5 separate regions of the Homo sapiens genome follow, and regions 2, 3, 4 and 5 are each linked to region 1. Evidence: promoter capture Hi-C in 16 types of primary human blood cells and fetal thymus (Javierre and others, 2016). All regions are on one chromosome and are shown on one strand. Each heading gives the region's core, a stretch centred on a gene start or on the middle of the fragment in contact. The rest is flanking DNA. Distances are from core to core; before and after follow the strand shown.

Region 1 (3,324 bases), core at 255-2,754:
GTGTGGCTTCCTGAAAATGTTTATTTTAAATTATGCTGGATGCAGAGGAGGCTGCACAGTGGTACCGAAACAGCCACCAACCCCAAGGTCCTCAACAATTTTCCACCAACAGCTCATCAATCCCAGCAAAGGGCTGTCCTGGAAGCGGGCCTGCCAAGTGCATGGGTCCCCCTCACCTCCCACCTCCAGCCACAAGCTGAGCCCTCACAGAACTTCCAGGACAACGAGTGTTGCCTGTAGGGGCGGATCCAGGCTTTGCGGAACCTGAAGTTTAAACAATGGGAGGTGGGCTATGGAGGGGGCATTCAACTTTAAGAAAAAAAAGTCAAAATTAGGATTACAACATTGCTAGGCACCCCACCTCCAAGATCTCGGGAGCCGCCAGGGCAAGGAAGGAGCCAGAAGCTCAGAGAAAACCGACATCTGCCAGGGAGGGAGGCAGGCGGCCACTCGGTCTCCGCGGCGCTTTTGCTCAGGTTGACCACATTCCCTGGCTTCAACTACAAGGTGAACTCCCGGGCAAGTTTCCTGTTCTACAAGAGGAGAGGGCTGGCCTTCAATCCCGAGACCAGAGCGAGGGGGTGCCGGGCGGCGGCTGCGGCAGCAGATGGAGATGAAAGCGCATTTCAACTAAAAGGTGTGATCAGTGTCAGGCCTCTGAGCCGAAGCTAAGCCATCATATCCCCTGTGGCCTGCACCTACACATCCAGATGGCCGGTTCCTGCCTTAACTGATGTCATTCCACCACAAAAGTGAAAATGACCTGTTCCTGCCTTAACTGATGACATTGTCTTGTGAAATTCCTTCTCCTGGCTCATCCTGGCTCAAAAGCTCCCCTACTGAGCACCTTGTGACCCCCCCCACTCTGCCCGCCAGAGAACCCCCCTTTGACTGTAATTTTCCTTTACCTACCCAAATCCTATAAAACGGCCCCACCCCTATCTCCCTTGGCTGACTCTTTTCGGACTCAGCCCGCCTGCACCCAGGTGAAATAAACAGCCATGTTGCTCACACAAAGCCTGTTTGGTGGTCTCTTCACACGGACGCGCATGAAAATCAGTGTTCCGACTTGGGTGACAAATTAAGTGCATTTCACCGCCGAGCGAGCCACGGCCCTGGAAGCAGAGCTCGCCCAGGCCAGGGGACGCGGTGCGCTCTCGGGGTCGCGAGCCTCCCTCCCTGCGGCGTCCGCCCACAGTCTGGGACGCGGAATTCCCTGCGAGAAGTCCGCGGTCGCCTGCAGGCTCCTTCCCCCAGTAGGCGGCACGCGCAGTCTCCTGGCCGGGGCAGGAGCTGGGGGCGGACCAACTACAAGTCCCTCTGCACCCCTGCGGGCCGACCGCAGCCCCGACCCCTCGGCGCCCCGGCCCGCCGCCCACCCCGGCGGCCGAGCCCGCGCGGAGCCCGAACCGCGTCTGCGTCCGGGGAGTGCGGGCCCGGCCGGCCCCGGGCGCTTACGGTCTCGGCTCGCAGGCTCCGGCGGCGGCAGGCGCGCGATCTCTCCGGCTCCCTGGCTCTCCTCGGCTAGTTTTCAGCAGCCCCGGCGCAGTCTCCGCCCAAGCCCGGCCTCCGAGCGGGGCGTTCCCCGGCCTGGAGGACCCGGGAAAGTCTCTAGGCCTGCCTAAGGCTCCACCTCTGCCAGGGATAAAACGGGCTACTTAAAGGGCGGTCCGCGGCCCCGCGGCCAGAAATGGAGAGAAGCGTTTGGCAGCTCCTACAGCAGTTTGATCCCGTAACTTCGTCAGTTGAATCTAAAAACAAAAATCCAAACTTGCATGATGTATGTCCTTTTTTTTTTTGGAGACAGAGTCTCACTCTATCACCCAGGCTGGAGTGCAGTGGTGCGATCTCGGCTCACTGCAGCCTCAAGCGATCCTCCCACTTCGGCCTCCAGAATAGCTGGGACTACAGACTGCGCCACCACACCTGGCTAATTTTTTAAGTTTTGTAGATACGGGGGTCTCACTTTGTTGCCTAGGCTGATCTTGAACTCCTGGGCTCAAGCGATGCACCTACCTCCGCCTCCCAAAGTGGTGAGATTATGGGCGTGAGCCACTGCACCTGGCGGTGTATGTCTTTTTAATTTCATCTTTCTAGCAATTCATTCTTAGTATATTTAACAAACATATTGGTCCGTGACATGCTTGGAAATCTAAAAACAAATTAGTGTCTTTATACAGAGAATGTGAGAAGCAATGGTCTGAAGCACTCTTGGGGGTCTTCATGGTGAGGACCAGTATAGGATGCTGAGTTCAATGCCAGGGGAGCAACCTCTTAGTGAATCCCCTCCCGCTTTGGAGAGAGCTCAGGGCCCAGGCGGGTGGTTGCTGGGGCTCTTTTAGCTTCCGTGAGAGCGTTGATCCCCAGCCCCTCATCGTTAGAAAGCCTGTCCCATCGCCTCTGCCATCACCCCTCCTTAGCTTCTCTCTTCACCTGCTCAGAGGTGCAGTTCTTTCAACCACCAGCATCCTCACGATCTCGGTGGACAGACTACAGCTAGGAGGCCACATGCAGGGCCCGTGGCTGGAGTTCTAAGCTTCTGACTGTCACCTTGCACACTTCAGGATAAGGTTCACCACCACCCACCTTCCCTTGGCCTCCAACCTTTCTGCTCACCCTGGCCCAAGAATTCTGGCCGGCAGACGCACTCACCTCACTCCCACCTCCAAACTTTTGCTCTTGCAGTACTGCCGGACAGGGTGCCCTCCTCCATCCACATGTAGAGTCCTCTTGTCCTTTAATTCTACACCCTCCTATAAAAGCTTTCTCTTGCAACTGCAGTCTCTGACATCTCTGTATTCCTTTCAGAACCTGCAGTCTGGGAGAGTTCTTTCCCCTCCCCTCCAAATAGTTCACACAGAAGCTCTGCCTCTGGCCACTTCACCAGGGGACCCAAATTCGTTACTCTTAAAACTGCAGTGATGGTGAAACAGGTAGGAGTCAGGACTTAACGCCAGAGGTGGGGCTTGGACACCAGATTGAGGACCAAATTGAGGACTAGCTAAAACAGGGACTGGGTGGAAGATGAGCATAAGATATGCCCATCATATCAGTGTGCCATGTCAGTTTACCAGGGCACGCCCCTGGAGTTATCACCCCCCTTCCATGGCAATGACCCGAGGACCCAAAAGTTACTACCCTTTTCCTAGAAATGTCTGCATAAACTGCCCCTTAATCTGCATGTAACTAAAAGTGGGTATCAACATGACTGCAGAATCGCCCAGAGCTGCTGCTCTCAGCACACTGCCTGTGGGGCAGCCCTGCACTGCAGGAGCAGGCCCCCTCTGCTGCTGCTGGACACCGCCACCTCCATAAAAGTTGCTG
Region 2 (3,570 bases), core at 685-3,184, 260 kb after region 1:
GCGCCTGTAGTCCCAGCTACTCGGGAGGCTGAGGCAGGAGAATGGTGTGAACCCGGGAGGCGGAGCTTGCAGTGAGCTGAGATCGTGCCACTGCTCTCCAGCCTGGGCGACTGAGCAAGACTCTGTCTCAAAAAAAAAAAAAAAAAAAAGAATCAGGAGTGTTCTTGGGAATAGATATAATTTCTTACGCAGATTCTCCAGTGTAGAAAAGGTATGTACCCTACCCCAACATTATATGGGCCACCTCCCCTTTATCTAAACAAACATACCCAATAATGTCACCTCTCAGTTTGATCATACCCTGCCAAAAATCTTTGCTTTGGATTCACAGCCAATTGGCTGCTGAAATCATCTACTGTCTTTCTTCCAAAACCAAGTTGAAAAAGCTTAACTTACATCTCCCTTCCCTTTACAAACTGTAGCCTGATAAAACTGATGAGAAGCAGAACAAACTTATTGATAAAGCAACTACAAATATTAGTCTTGCCTGTTTCTTAATGTTTTACCACTTGTTAAAACATTTTTCCATATTAAACATTTCTGTTTGTATTTTTATTTATTAGGTGCTAATATCAATATTATCCACTGTTGTCATCGGCTAATCCTTCTCAGTGATTTTCAGACTTTAAAAAGTTATGGACATTTTTGTGCAAATGAGATCTTTGGTAGTTCAGTGTATAAATGGACAGAAAATATGGAGCTTCTCTGATTGATATAGGGTTCCGGATCCGCAACCACTGAGATGCCTCCATGGTTCTCTAGAACTGAATTTGAAAATTACTAGCTCACGTTTTGTGCTAAAACCAATAATCACATAATTTTCCTTTCCTCTTCTTCCGTGTCCCCTACGTCCTCAAATTTTTTAAATTTATAAAAAACAGCTTTCTGGGGGGCTAGTCATACCAACCTTTACAAGGTGCTCTGTGTGTTTGTGTGATATTTCCTTTTTTTAATGAAAATGGTGGGTGGCAGAAATGTTTTCCTTTATTTTGTTTTTAACTTGGTATGCAATTATCTAATATACTGGAAAGTACAGAAGGTGCTAAATACAGTGAGTTATATTTGGAAGTTAAAAAAACACAAATCACATGTTCTAACATTTTTGAAAAAGAGCTGAATTAGTGCTCTTCCTTTTATACCAAATGCTACAGTGTATTTTTTCCTTTCTCCATGGAAATGGATTCAATTTTAAATGGGTGTATTACCTAAAGTGATATTTTTGATTTCTCTATTATTTATCCAGTACATTTATAGATTTTTATAGGTAATAGTTATGGATTATATAAACTACAAAGTTAATTTTTGTGATAATTGGTGGAGGCAAATTTGCCCAACTTTTATTTTCTTAAAAGGTTTAAATCATTTGAAAATAGGAAATAATTTTTAAATCCAAAAAAAAGAAAATTATATGCATAACCAGTAAGATTATCCCACTGCTTTTGTTCTCAGCCAAGATGAAGCATGCCTTTTCAAAAAGAACACCCCAAAATAAGTATTTTACCATTATCTAAAAGACTACTTTTGCTGGGTTTTATTTTTTAATCTATTGAACATGAGAACATGGTCAAAAGTCATACCTTCCTTATGGTTGAAATTTTCTAGAGGTTTTATAATATTGAGATTTCATTTTTTAATGATAATTTGGCCTGACATACCTTCCAGTATGTACATTTGTATGAGTTTTATCACAGCATTTAAAAATCTCTTTATGTTTGGAATTAATAGGATTAAAAAAATCTCAGTAGTTTCTAGAAATACTTTATAGTGACAGTTTTGTTTTTTAGTCTTCCAGATTGTTGATATTAATGCAAACAATATTAAGCTTATATCACAAAAATATTTTCAGTAAAGCGTATTTTTTATAAACTGTGTTAGGCACTGGGAATAATACAAAAATGATAAATAAAGCCTGTCCCTTGCCTGATGTCACAGTCGGGCTACAGCTGCCAGAAACAAGGCCAGCAAAATTAGGATACAGCTTGCGAATGTAGTGTGAAGAAAGGCCTTCGGAATACCAAAGAAAATTCTAGGGTCAGGGAAAGCTTTGAAGAGAAGGTGATGTTTCAGCTATGTTTGAAGAATGGGGAGGGCTCATCAGTGATAGAACATTCTAGATAGGTTTGGAAGCATGAGAGCATGGAGCAATTGGGAAATAACAAATATGCCATGATGTGGCTTGGACATGAGAATTTATGTGGTGGGGGTCAGGAGCAGGGCATCCCAAGAGATAAGGTTGGGAAGGGCCTAGTGCTGACGAGTGTGCATGTTATCATGGAGGTGGTGAAGAGTCATTGAAGGATGCTAAATAAAGGATTGATATGATCAAGTTTGTGCTTTAGGACAAGTGTGGTGAGCATGCAAGTTTACAAGCATGAAGATCAATTCAGGACACTGTTGTAATAATACCGGTGAGAAAGATGAGGCCTGAACTGACAAAGTAGAGAGAGGAGAGGAGCAGAATGAAGAGGAGGTGACCAGCTTTCATTTAGTGCTGGCTATACCTGCCACGGCAGTGTTCTAGCTTTCTACCTTTGTCCTCACATAGAAATTAAAGCCATTCTGAGGCAGGAATAATGATCTATTTATTGGTCACCTTCTGTGTGCTTGGTCTTAATCTGGCGTATACATAACCAATCATCTTTATAACAACCCTACAAGGTTGGTGGTATTATCCTTGTTTTAGAAATGAGATTGGCACTTACAGAAGGTCACTACTGTAGTGATGCGAGGACCCACAGCTAGACAGTGGCATTAGTGGCTTTTGTACCGAGGTCTTAGAACTCAACCTCTTTTCTCTTTGTCAGTAAGATGTAATGGGCAGGCCGGGAAGGAGAGAACAGTGTTTTAAAATGATGACCAGGTGTGTCAGTTTGGGCCCCCGGTAAAGATGGTCCTGTTAACCAGAGACAGAGTGAAAGAGGATGGAAGAGGAAATACTGTGCTGCAGATAACACATTTGGTTCTGGATATACTCCATTTGCGGTTCTTTATTAATGCTTTCATGAAATCTTAAAAATTTGGACCTGAAAAGAATCCCAAAGATAACCCTGGACAAAGTTTTTTAGTTTAGCTTTCCGAAACAACTAATCTTATTGGAGAATTAACATTTTGAACCCTATAAAACCTATCTGTTTGGCCAGGTGCGGTGGCATACACCTGTAATCCCAGCACTTAGGGAGGCCGAGGCGGGTGCATCACTTGAGACCAGGAGTTCGAGACCAGCCTGGCTGATATGGTGAAACCTCATCTCTACTAAAAACGCAAAAATTAGCTGGGCGTGGTGGCGGGCACCTGTAGTCCCAATTACTCGGGAGGCCGATGCAGGAGAATTGCTTGAACCCGGGAGGCGGAGGTTGCAGTGAGCTGAGATCGTGCCACTGCACTCCAGCCTGGGTGACAAGAGTAAAAACTCTGCCTCAAAAAAAAAAAAAAAAAATCTGTTCACTAAGTATTAAGTGAGTAACAGGTTTGGGGATTGGGTAGGTGGGGACAGTCTTTTCGTAGGTCTGCCTGCTCTACTTTCTTCTCATACTTACCTCTCACAGTCCTCCCTTTTGTGAATCACAGTAA
Region 3 (3,273 bases), core at 224-2,723, 320 kb after region 1:
TTTGAGGAAACCTCTCTGGAGTCTGTATTTATAGGAGCATCCTGAAAGTCCCTATTATGTAGCTGGTGGGAGCGAGAGAGGGACAGCCACACTCGTGCTGTGAGCAGAGCACAACTTCAGGCAGAGTGAATGCCTTCTGAGTTCTCATTGGAAGCTTTCTGTTGCTCAGCCTCTGGCAGATTTCAGAACCTTCTACTTAAGCCAGGTGTGGTGGTGCGTGCTCCTAGGCACAGCGACTCGGGGGGCTGAGGCAGAAGGATCACTTGAGCCCAAAGTTGGAGGCCAGCCTGGGCAACATAGCGAGGCCTGTCTCCTTAAAAAATAAATAAATAAATAATAAATAAATAAATAAATAAAAACCTTGTCCTTGACTATTGTGCTGTCTGCTGCCCCTTTGTAGGGATGGGGTTGGGGTCAGAATAAGCATGTGCATGAATGGCGGAAAGCTTTGGTGGTGTTTGTTTGTTTGTTTGTTTTTTGAGAGGTGGGGGAGTCAGCAGTGAACCTTTCTGGTTAAAGAACAACGTACATAATTTCTATTATGAGATTTAGAAGGTTAAATACTTTTTTTTTTCAGGCCTACCAAGTTGATAGACCAAAAGTATATAGTAGAACAGCACAGTAGAAAAAATTTAAAAGTGAATTTCTTATGGTCCAAAAGGATGGATAGTCACAGTCCATAACCTTTCATAATATATGCTGGAATTGGAATCTCTTGTCATCTTGCTTTGCTCTGAATTTTAGAACTAGAAGTGTGCATGTATGTCAAAAGATTATGCAGAGCTATTTTCTTTGCTAACAATGTAAACATTTGCACCCCATGAATGGGACTTTATAATCTGGAAGTGAGCCTAAGGTTGCGTATACTGAAGTCATGTTTTAAAAGTTAAGGTTGACTTAAACATATACAAGGCTGTATTTTAATTGTAACTAGAAATCATTTACTATGCATACAGAACCTCATGTATCTTATCATGGAATTTGTGAATTAATGGGCCTTGCCGAATTCAAGGGTAAGGGAAACTGGTAACAACTTGTTTTAAATCAACATACTATAAGCTCCTGCTTGCTTGACTCAAGTTGTTTGAAAATCTGAATTAAACAGGATCTCATTGTCAGGAAACATCTTCTAAGCTTGACATCTACGTTTAAGAAGGGAACGTGGAAGAGAAGGTGAGACATGAAACTAAAACAGCTGGGAGGGTAGGATCAGACTGCACCTGATTTTTGGACCAAAGTTTCATATAGGAATAAATAAAAAGGAGGACCACTTGTGAGCCAACCTAGGAAGGACTTGCCAGAAAGTAGCAGCTCCTGCTGCAAAATACAGTGCCTTCAAAATGATTCTCTGTGTGAATTGCATGCAATTTCATGTAACCATAAAGTGTAACCTGTATGTGCATGACATGTGTCTAGAATGTGTAAAGTTAGGATTCAGCAGGAAGGGGCCTGGCCCTGTCACTGTGGTGGATCAGTGGACCTGCTGAAGTCACTGGACTCATGTGACTTAGGTTTGCAGCATCAGACCCCTGTGTTTGCATTAAGTGGCCACATCGTTGAAATCGGATCAATCTCTCCCTCAGCTTTCTTTCCTACTTTGCAGCTTTGCTGGTTTTAACTGCTTCATTCTTCTGCTTCTTGGTATCCTTTTTTCTTTTGAAATAAAAACATGAAATACTTAATTCAAATGAGATTTGTATTTATTTTACCAGTTGCTCTTAATTTACCAAAGGTATACGACATGAAAAGAGTTGCATTCTTTTGTCTTGGTTGTGATTCTGACCTTAAAATACGCTCAGTTCTAAAAGCTTGAGGAGCGTTCTATACTGGTCCTTCTGCATTTCAGCCTGTCACCAAGGGGAGTGTTTTGCGATCCGCCATCCTTTCCCTGAATGCTGCTGCTCCTCTATGACGGAAAGCTTGGTGACCTCTTCATTGGAGGCGTCCAAAGCCAGTGAACAGCCTGTTGGTAAATGAACGAGCTGCATGTACGTGCTATTTTCCTCCAGGACCAAATGCCCTGTGCATTTTAGTATTAAGCGTACTTACTGCAGGAACCAGTACTGGGACCACTGCAAAACTACACAATGGTGCAAGTGCTTTGGGGCTTTGAAGAGCTGAAGACAGACATAAGACTTAGTGTTCTCAGGCCGGGCATGGTGGCTCATGTCTGTAATCCCAGCATTTTGGGAGGGGTGGGCGGATTGCTTGAGTCCAGGAGTTCAAGACCAGCCTGGGTGACATGACGAAATCCCGTCTCTACAAAAAAAAAAAAAAAAAAAAAAAAGGACTTGGTGTTCTCACTTTGTGACCATCCTGCCCCTCACTGGAGGTCCCTAGAGGCAGGTGCCTTTCAGCTAAGAATATCTGGGAGTCTGTGGTTTGTGAGGAGCTTGCTGGCACATTAGTGTAAAGGGTGTGATCCTTTTAATGGCCACACTTTTCTGTATGATGTCTTTGTTTTCATTCTCTGATGTCAGGGAGGTGAAAAGAAGGCTCAGGTGAAAAGAAGGTTCATCAACTGAACCAGAGTAACTTGTCACCTCCTTTTTTGCCAGCCTCATTTCTAAATAGACTGAATGTCTGTTACCTCTCCTCTCCTTTTCAACTGAGAAGCCCTTGGTGTACAGCGGAAAGGGGCTGTAGGGGAATGCATTTTGCCACTGCAGTCATGAGCTGACCCAGCCTTCTGTATTCTTGGATGTTTTCATTCTAGGCTGAATCCCATTGTGTTATGGCAAAGAGGCCAGACCCTAAGAGACTATATGCTGAAAAGATTTGTGAAGCCCCTCAGTTCCCAGTAACTTTTGGAGCTTATTGTCATGAGATTGCTACCCTAGCCCTGGGCAGTGTGGGCAAGGACACCGTGGCACCTGGGCACTGAGTCCGGGAGTTGTATTTTAGCCTTCTCTCCTCTCAGCTGTAAAGTGAGGTGTTTAGGTCTTCAAAGGTCATTCCAGCTCCAGCTTCTATGGTTTCAATATGCTGGGGGTATCTGGCTGAGGCTCCCCACCCAGGTGGCCCAGCTGACAGTGACAGTATCATAGAGTGCGAGATAGCCTCTGTCACCACACTGACAGCTGCAGACACTAGTATGGAGGGGTTATGTGGGTGAAGTTCAAGGCGTCTCTCTGTGAACAAGCTAGAAAGAACCACTCATTTGTCATTTCTCCTTGGCCACAGGCTCTCATGGCAAAGGCCTCTGACTGAGGAGTAACACAGCGTTGAACCAATTTTAATATTGCAAGGCCACTCCTGTGGGTAAAGGCATTG
Region 4 (3,483 bases), core at 80-2,579, 370 kb after region 1:
ATCTGGTTCTTCCAGTCTTAGTTACCTGCCGAGCCAGGTGTGGCAGGTGTCAGGTACAGGGATCTGGGAGCTCAGAGAGCAGTAGCAGGAGCTTTAGGCTTCAGTTTTTTCTCCCACTTGATGGCCCCAGACGCCTTGGTGAAGTGAAATGCTCCCTGCCTGGGGCTCCAGGATGCCTTCGAGTGACTGCCTTAAGGTTATTGTGTTTTCTTGTGGCTACGCCAGGATGTTCTGCTTCACCAAGCATTTCCATCCTCAATCGTCATGTCCCTACTGAAACTCTGTGTTCTCTTCTCAAGCAATTTTCTGGTAAAAACATTTTCCTGGCTAGCCTGTAAGCATTGCTGTCTAGCTTTTGTGTTAGCACTGATTCAGATGGCCACTACCCACTCTGTGCAGCAGACTTTCAAGACCAAGCAGACTGATAGGCAGGCAGGAGGGTGGAGTTCTCTACCTGCTGGAATGCCCTGAGGCCCAGAGAAGGGATGGACAGGGCATCAGTGTCTCTCCCGTGTCTCTCTTGCCTTCAACCACTGACTCACCCATGTTGTTTCTCACTTAAGTTAAAACACACAGAGGGGCTGTTCTTAGAGAAAGTCTAACTCGGCTGGGCGTAGTGGCTCACGCTTACAATCCAGCACTTTGGGAGGCCGAGGCAGGCAGGTCATCTGAGGTCAGGAGTTTCAGACCAGCCTGGCCAACATGGTGAAACCCCGTCTCTACTAAAAATACAAAAATTAGCTGGGCATGGTGGCGCACACCTGTAGTCCCAGCTATTCAGGAGGCTGAGGCAGAGAATCGCTTGAACCTGGCAGGCAGAGGTTGCAGTAAGCAGAGATCACCATTGCACTCTAGCCTAGGTAACAAGATCGAAACTGTCTTAAAAAAAAAAAAGTCTAACTCTACTTTTGATCAAATTGTATTCTTGCAAACAATTTTGCAAGAAATTGATTGTCTCATTTTGATGCCATGATGACATTTTGGGAAATGTTTCCAAGTTGTTACAGTTTTCTAGCTGCCAGGACCTGGGTGCTTCCTGTGGCAGACAAAGGGTGACTCCGCGCATAGGGTGCCAAGAGGGAGGGCTCCACTCCATTCTGAACTTTTACACATCAGCCTCCTGCAAGATAAGCTTCCTGGTTTTCATATTACAACATGAACCAAACCGCAGAGGTTATGACTTCTCTGTGTTTTAAGCCCTGCCCACTTCCTGCTCACGTGCCTGGTCTGCAACGACCATTTATTTCAGGATGTGAAGTCAAAAGCAAAGCCCAAACAATAGTGAGCGGCTTCTGAGCCAAGCTCGTCAGCCTGCTAACCCACTCAGAACTGCCCCATCTTCAACATGAACAAGTGCTTCTGGAACAAATACCAGCCAATTTCACACAGTCCAGGCCTTTGACATGAAATACGGATCAGCTCTACATTTATGCACGACAATGTCGATTTGTTATCTGTTGGAGTGATTGTATACCTTCGGTGGTAGAACTGAGGTTCCCAGGGGAGCTATTAAGAAAAAAGCTTTTCTGGCACGGGTGCGGTGGCTCACGCCTGTAATCCCAGCACTTTGGGAGGCCAAGGCTGGTAGATCACCTGAGGTCAGGAGTTCGAGGCCAGCCTGGCCAACATGGTGAAACCCCATCTCTACTAAAAATACAAAAATTAGTTGGGCGTGATGGCGCATGCCTGTAATCCCAGCTACTTGGGAGGCTGAGGCAGGAGAATTGCTTGAACCTGAGAGGCAGAGATTGCAGTGAGCCAAGATCGAGCCACTGCACTCCAGCCTGGGTGACAGAGCAAGACTCCATCTCAAAAAAAAAGAAAGAAAGAAAGAAAGAGTTTTTCTGGCTAGGTGTGGTGGCTTATGCCTGTAGTCTCAGCTACTTGGGAGGCTGAGGTGGGAGGATTGCTTGAGCTGGGGGAGTTTGAGGCTGCAGTGAGCTATCACACCACTGCACTCCAGCATGGGTGACAGAGCAAGACCCTGTCTCGGGGGAGAAAAAAAAATGCAAATGCTTTCCTGACAGAACTAAGAGAGTTTGGAACTAGGGTTCTATAAAGTCAGCCCTGGTGTGGGACTTCTGTTATTACAGAGAGTACAGAAAGTGTCCTAAAAGGACAGCTGGGTGGCTGGGCATGGTGGCTCACATCTGTAATCCCAGCACTTCGGGAGCAGAGGTAGGCGGATCACCTGAGGTCAGGAGTTCGAGACCAGACTGGCCAACATGGTGAAACCCTATCTCTACTAAAAATACAGAATTAGCTTGGCATGGTGGTGCATGCCTGTAATCCCAGCTACTTGGGAGGCTGAGGCAGGAGAATCATTTGAACCCAGGAGGTGGAGGTTGCAGTAAGCTGAGATTGCACCATGGCACTCCAACCTGGCCAAAAAGAGCGAAACTCCATCTCAAAAAAAAAAAAAAAAAAAAAAAAAAAAAAGACAGCTGGCCAAACAGCAATAGGCTGATCATGTGTATTTAGCGCACATGGGCACAGCCCATGGCACCAAGGGGGACATCGAGGTCACAGATGAAAAGACTTGCTCTCATAGTGCTTACAGTTTATGAGCCAACAGCCACGTTAAGCAACAGCCTTCACTGGATATATAATTAGGGGTGGGGTAGACACTTTCTACACCAAAGACAACTCTTTAGGCTCCAGATGGGATTCCGGCTGCTCCTGACTGGTCTCTCTTAGTCCTTCATACATCACACACCGTGGACTCTGAGTTACACGCCACTGGTCTCTCTTCCCAGCTCAGCCACTCACTCCGTGTGTCAGCCGGAGCAGGTCATTCAACCATTCTTTCAGTTTCTTCACCTGTGGAATGGGGATAAATGGACCTATCTCACAAGGACATTGAAAGGATTAATAGAGCGATTGCATGCAAAATGCTGGCACCTAGTGGAGTTGTAATCAGAGTAGAAAGACACTATCATGCGTCTCTGTATTCCCAGATACTGGCTGGCCTGCAGCGAGCCACAGCGTTACCATGGGTGGGCCCGTGGGAAGGGGCAAGCATTGACCTAACTCCTCACATTTCCTTATTTTTCTCTCCCCTCTGTTATATCCTTTCTAAATAGTCATTCCAGGATATACAACTCCCTGCCCCTGAACACTTCTGTGGGGTGGCCTGGCTGAGAGCCCAGATTCCCAGGAGAGCCCTGCACGCAGCCAGCTCTCTGTCGCCCCCCTCTCAGGAGAGGCAGGTGGGCAGACCCTGAAACCTAACAGTCCTGAAACGCGCTGAGCATGTCCACGTTACCACAGCAGCCAGGTCACCTCTCCAGGGTGGCATCTTTTCTGCCTCCATTCTTCTTCTTCCTTACCATTTTTTTTTGGCCCTCCGTGTGTGTGTGTGTGTGTGTGTGTGTGTGTGTGTGTGTGTGTGTGTGTTTTGAGATAGAGTCTTGCTCTGTTGCCCAGGCTGGAGTGCAGTGGCGTGATCTCAGCTCACTGCAACATCTGCCTCCCGGGTTCACA
Region 5 (3,220 bases), core at 528-3,027, 300 kb after region 1:
AATCCCCATGAAAAAAAAAAGTCTTAATTAGATGATCTGTTGCATAGTTCTATTACTAAAGCTCTAACCTAAAGTAAGTAGTTATATATACTTGGACCTTACATTTCAGTATCTTTCAAAAACTGATCTAGACTTTTACAACTATGATAAATTGGACTCATTAAGTAAATACATGAGTCAGTTTAATTTAGCATGGCATTCTGCGTACCTTCCCACATAAAATAATATCACTCAGCTCTATTGTTGATGGTCTTACTTAACATTTCTCTCTCTCAGGCATTGTCTTGGGACCACTTGCACCTCCACCTCCTCCACCACTCCCACCAGGGCCTGCACAGGCTTCAGTAGCCCTCCCTCCTCCCCCAGGGCCCCCTCCACCTCCTCCACTCCCATCCACCGGGCCTCCACCGCCCCCTCCTCCCCCTCCTCTCCCTAATCAAGTACCCCCTCCTCCTCCACCACCTCCTGCCCCACCCCTCCCTGCATCTGGATTCTTTTTGGCATCCATGTCAGAAGACAATCGCCCTTTAACTGGACTTGCAGCTGCAATTGCCGGAGCAAAACTTAGGAAAGTGTCACGGGTAAATACCTTTCTGAAAAATTTTTTTAATATGTCTTATTCTTCCTAAATATCTAAAATGTTGAATTTATTGTATTCTAATTTTATGAAATGTTATGAACTTCATTGATTTAAAAAATTGAAATAATTTACCCTGGCGCAATGGCTCATACCTGTATAATCCCTGCACTTTGGGAGGCTGGGGTGGGCGGATCACCTGAGGTCAGGAGTTCGAGACCAGGCTGGCCAACATGTTAAAACCCTATCTCACTAAAAATACAAAACTTAGCCAGATGTGTGACACATGCCTATAATCCCAGCTGCTCGGGAGGCTGAGGCAGAAGAATCGCTTGAACCCGGGAGGTGGAGGTTGCAGTGAGCCGAGATCATGCCACTGCGCTCTAGCCTGGGTGACAGAGTAAGACTTTGTCTCAAAAAATAAAATAAATAAAAATTAAAAATTGACATAATTTAAATTTTTATAGTGAAGTTGTAAGAATAGTATAAATAATTTCTATAAATTCATCACCTACATTCACCCATTAACATTTTACCAGTATTTGCTTTTTTATTCCTTCTTTGGATATGTTTCCTTCTTTACACATGCACTTTTTTTGTTTTTTCTCTTGAGACGGAGTTTCACTCTTGTTATCCAGACTGGAGTGCCATGGCGCGATCTCAGCTCACTGCAACCTCCACCTCCCAGGTTCAAGCGATTTTGCCTCAGCCTCCTGAGTAGCTGGGATTACAGGCACCCACCACCATGCTTAGCTAATTTTTGTATTTTTAGTAGAGATAGGGTTTCGCGATGTTGACCAGACTGGTCTTGAAATCCTGACCTCAGGTGATCCACCCGCCTCAGCCTCCCACAGTGCCGGGATTACAGGTGTGAGCCATCGCACCCGGCCTACACATGCACTTTTGTTTGAATGATTTGAGAGTAACTCAGAGACACAAGCTTCTATTTTCCTAAGTACCTCAGTGTGAATTTTATAAGAACAAGGACATTTACCTGCATAACCAGTAATATAATTATCAAAATCAGGAAAGTTAACATGATAGAATACTGTAATCTACAAATGTATTATTCAAATTTCATCTATAGTCCAATGACATCTTTAGTGACAGTTTTTTTCCTAGTGCAAGATCATTTATTGCATTTAGTTATAATGTCTCTTTGATATACTTTATGACAGTTCCTCAATCTTTCATAATACTGGCATTTTTGAAGACTGTAGGACAATTATTTTGCCTGTTATCCTTCACTTTGGCTTATCTGATTTTTCCTCAAGATTAGATTCTAGTTATGCAGGGGTTGTTTTAGCAGGAATATTATCAGAGCAAAGTCATGCCCTTTTCATGGCAGCACAGGAAGAGATACATGATACTGTTTCATTGCATTCTTGGTGATAGTAGTTTTGATAAACTCTTGTTGATATATAAAGTCATGCTAAGAATCTATTGGTTCTTAAAGCTTAAAAAATAATATTTAGGTTTTTTAAAATTAATGCTGATGTTTCCTTCTGTTTTAGATGTAATATATTAATAAAAATATGGTTGTCTAACATAGGAGTTGATTATGTCTGTATATTCTCATTAAGATGGAGGATACCTCTTTCCCAAGTGGAGGGAATGCTATTGGTGTGAACTCCGCCTCATCTAAAACAGATACAGGCCGTGGAAATGGACCCCTTCCTTTAGGGGGTAGTGGTTTAATGGAAGAAATGAGTGCCCTGCTGGCCAGGAGGTAAGGAATTTCATTATAATGGACATGCCCAGAATTGAGAGGATTTTAATTGTATTCCAAATACAACTAACTAGATGCACTTCTTTCCTCGTAGAGAAGTGGTTTTTATACTGAATCAGATAATATTTTTAAAAATCGGATTTGCCTTCTTTGTAGGAGAAGAATTGCTGAAAAGGGATCAACAATAGAAACAGAACAAAAAGAGGACAAAGGTGTAAGTTAATAAAGATAGTCTACCATACCTTAAAATATGGAATTCAGGCACAGCTCATTCAGGAAATAGTGTCAGCATTTATTTAATTTGGGCTTAATTAGTTTGAACTTATATTTGCTAATTTTTAACTATGCATGTGAAGTGGCTTGTTTTGACTGTTATTTATAAATTTTTAATGGCAGTCTTAGTAAAGTGAGTTGAATATGTGAAATTATGGGAAAAGCATTGAAGTTCAAACCTGTGGAGTTTAATTCTGTTCCTTAAATGAGTGAATGACATTTCACTACTTTTTTCATCTCTTAGAATCTCAGTTCCCTTGCATTAATTTAAAAGGAAGGAATTCGCCTAAATTCATATGTTTCCCTTAGGAGCTTGATGGTTATTGGCTGTGCCCCTTCAGAGTGTAACCTTCATGCCCTCCTCCCTGATTCAGCTGGGCAAACTCTGCTTTGTCTGTGCTGTATATTGGTGTGCAACAAATAATATGTTCCCCCTGCTCCATCTGGCCACCTTAGATGCCATTCCTCAAATCTGTCTCTCGTGTCTGGCTTTGTAGCATTGGCTAGTGAAAGTTCTCAAGGAGAACACATGAGGAAAGGAGCTGTGGGGAGGGTTGAAGGGAAGATGGTTGAAGACAGGAGAAGAAAGTCTAAGCTGAAATGAAAGGGAGAGAAGACCGATGAAAGAGAAAGTGGGGAGT

The links. The method cuts DNA at HindIII sites, captures the fragments that hold promoters and counts their contacts. A CHiCAGO score of 5 or more calls a contact.
Region 2: a contact is called between a fragment that was not itself captured here and the fragment with the promoter of EPHX1 in region 1, in 1 of 17 cell types (total B cells). The highest score is 5.1, in total B cells.
Region 3: a contact is called between a fragment that was not itself captured here and the fragment with the promoter of EPHX1 in region 1, in 2 of 17 cell types (endothelial precursors and activated CD4 T cells). The highest score is 8.7, in endothelial precursors.
Region 4: a fragment that was not itself captured here is called in contact with the fragment with the promoter of EPHX1 in region 1 in 1 of 17 cell types (M0 macrophages); the score reaches 5.5 in M0 macrophages.
Region 5: a contact is called between a fragment that was not itself captured here and the fragment with the promoter of EPHX1 in region 1, in 1 of 17 cell types (endothelial precursors). The highest score is 6.7, in endothelial precursors.

What each region holds. Positions count from the first base shown.
Region 1 is chr1:225,808,304-225,811,627 of GRCh38, reverse strand. EPHX1 (epoxide hydrolase 1) reads right to left here and starts at 1,504. Exons shown (of 9, transcript NM_001136018.4): 1 at 1,459-1,504. RefSeq lists a silencer at 1,327-1,546. The HindIII fragment of the contact is 4,776 bases long and covers 1-2,538 here.
Region 2 is chr1:225,548,714-225,552,283 of GRCh38, reverse strand. The region is part of intron 3 of ENAH (ENAH actin regulator); the gene reads left to right. Among named protein-coding and RNA genes, the nearest start is that of LINC02765, 83 kb to the right of the region's middle. RefSeq lists an enhancer at 2,792-3,291. The HindIII fragment of the contact is 220 bases long and covers 1,825-2,044 here.
Region 3 is chr1:225,485,244-225,488,516 of GRCh38, reverse strand. It overlaps ENAH (ENAH actin regulator), which reads left to right. Exons shown (of 14, transcript NM_018212.6): 14 at 1-1,688. LOC124904526 (a long non-coding RNA gene) reads right to left here. Exons shown (of 2, transcript XR_007066903.1): 2 at 1,683-1,963. Among named protein-coding and RNA genes, the nearest start is that of LINC02765, 19 kb to the right of the region's middle. The HindIII fragment of the contact is 674 bases long and covers 1,137-1,810 here.
Region 4 is chr1:225,442,767-225,446,249 of GRCh38, reverse strand. No RefSeq gene overlaps it. Among named protein-coding and RNA genes, the nearest start is that of LBR, 16 kb to the right of the region's middle. RefSeq lists enhancers at 1-99, 995-1,044, 1,545-1,614 and a cis regulatory region at 901-1,440. The HindIII fragment of the contact is 389 bases long and covers 1,135-1,523 here.
Region 5 is chr1:225,511,957-225,515,176 of GRCh38, reverse strand. It overlaps ENAH (ENAH actin regulator), which reads left to right. Exons shown (of 14, transcript NM_018212.6): 7 at 277-581; 8 at 2,161-2,306; 9 at 2,463-2,520. Among named protein-coding and RNA genes, the nearest start is that of LINC02765, 46 kb to the right of the region's middle. The HindIII fragment of the contact is 516 bases long and covers 1,520-2,035 here.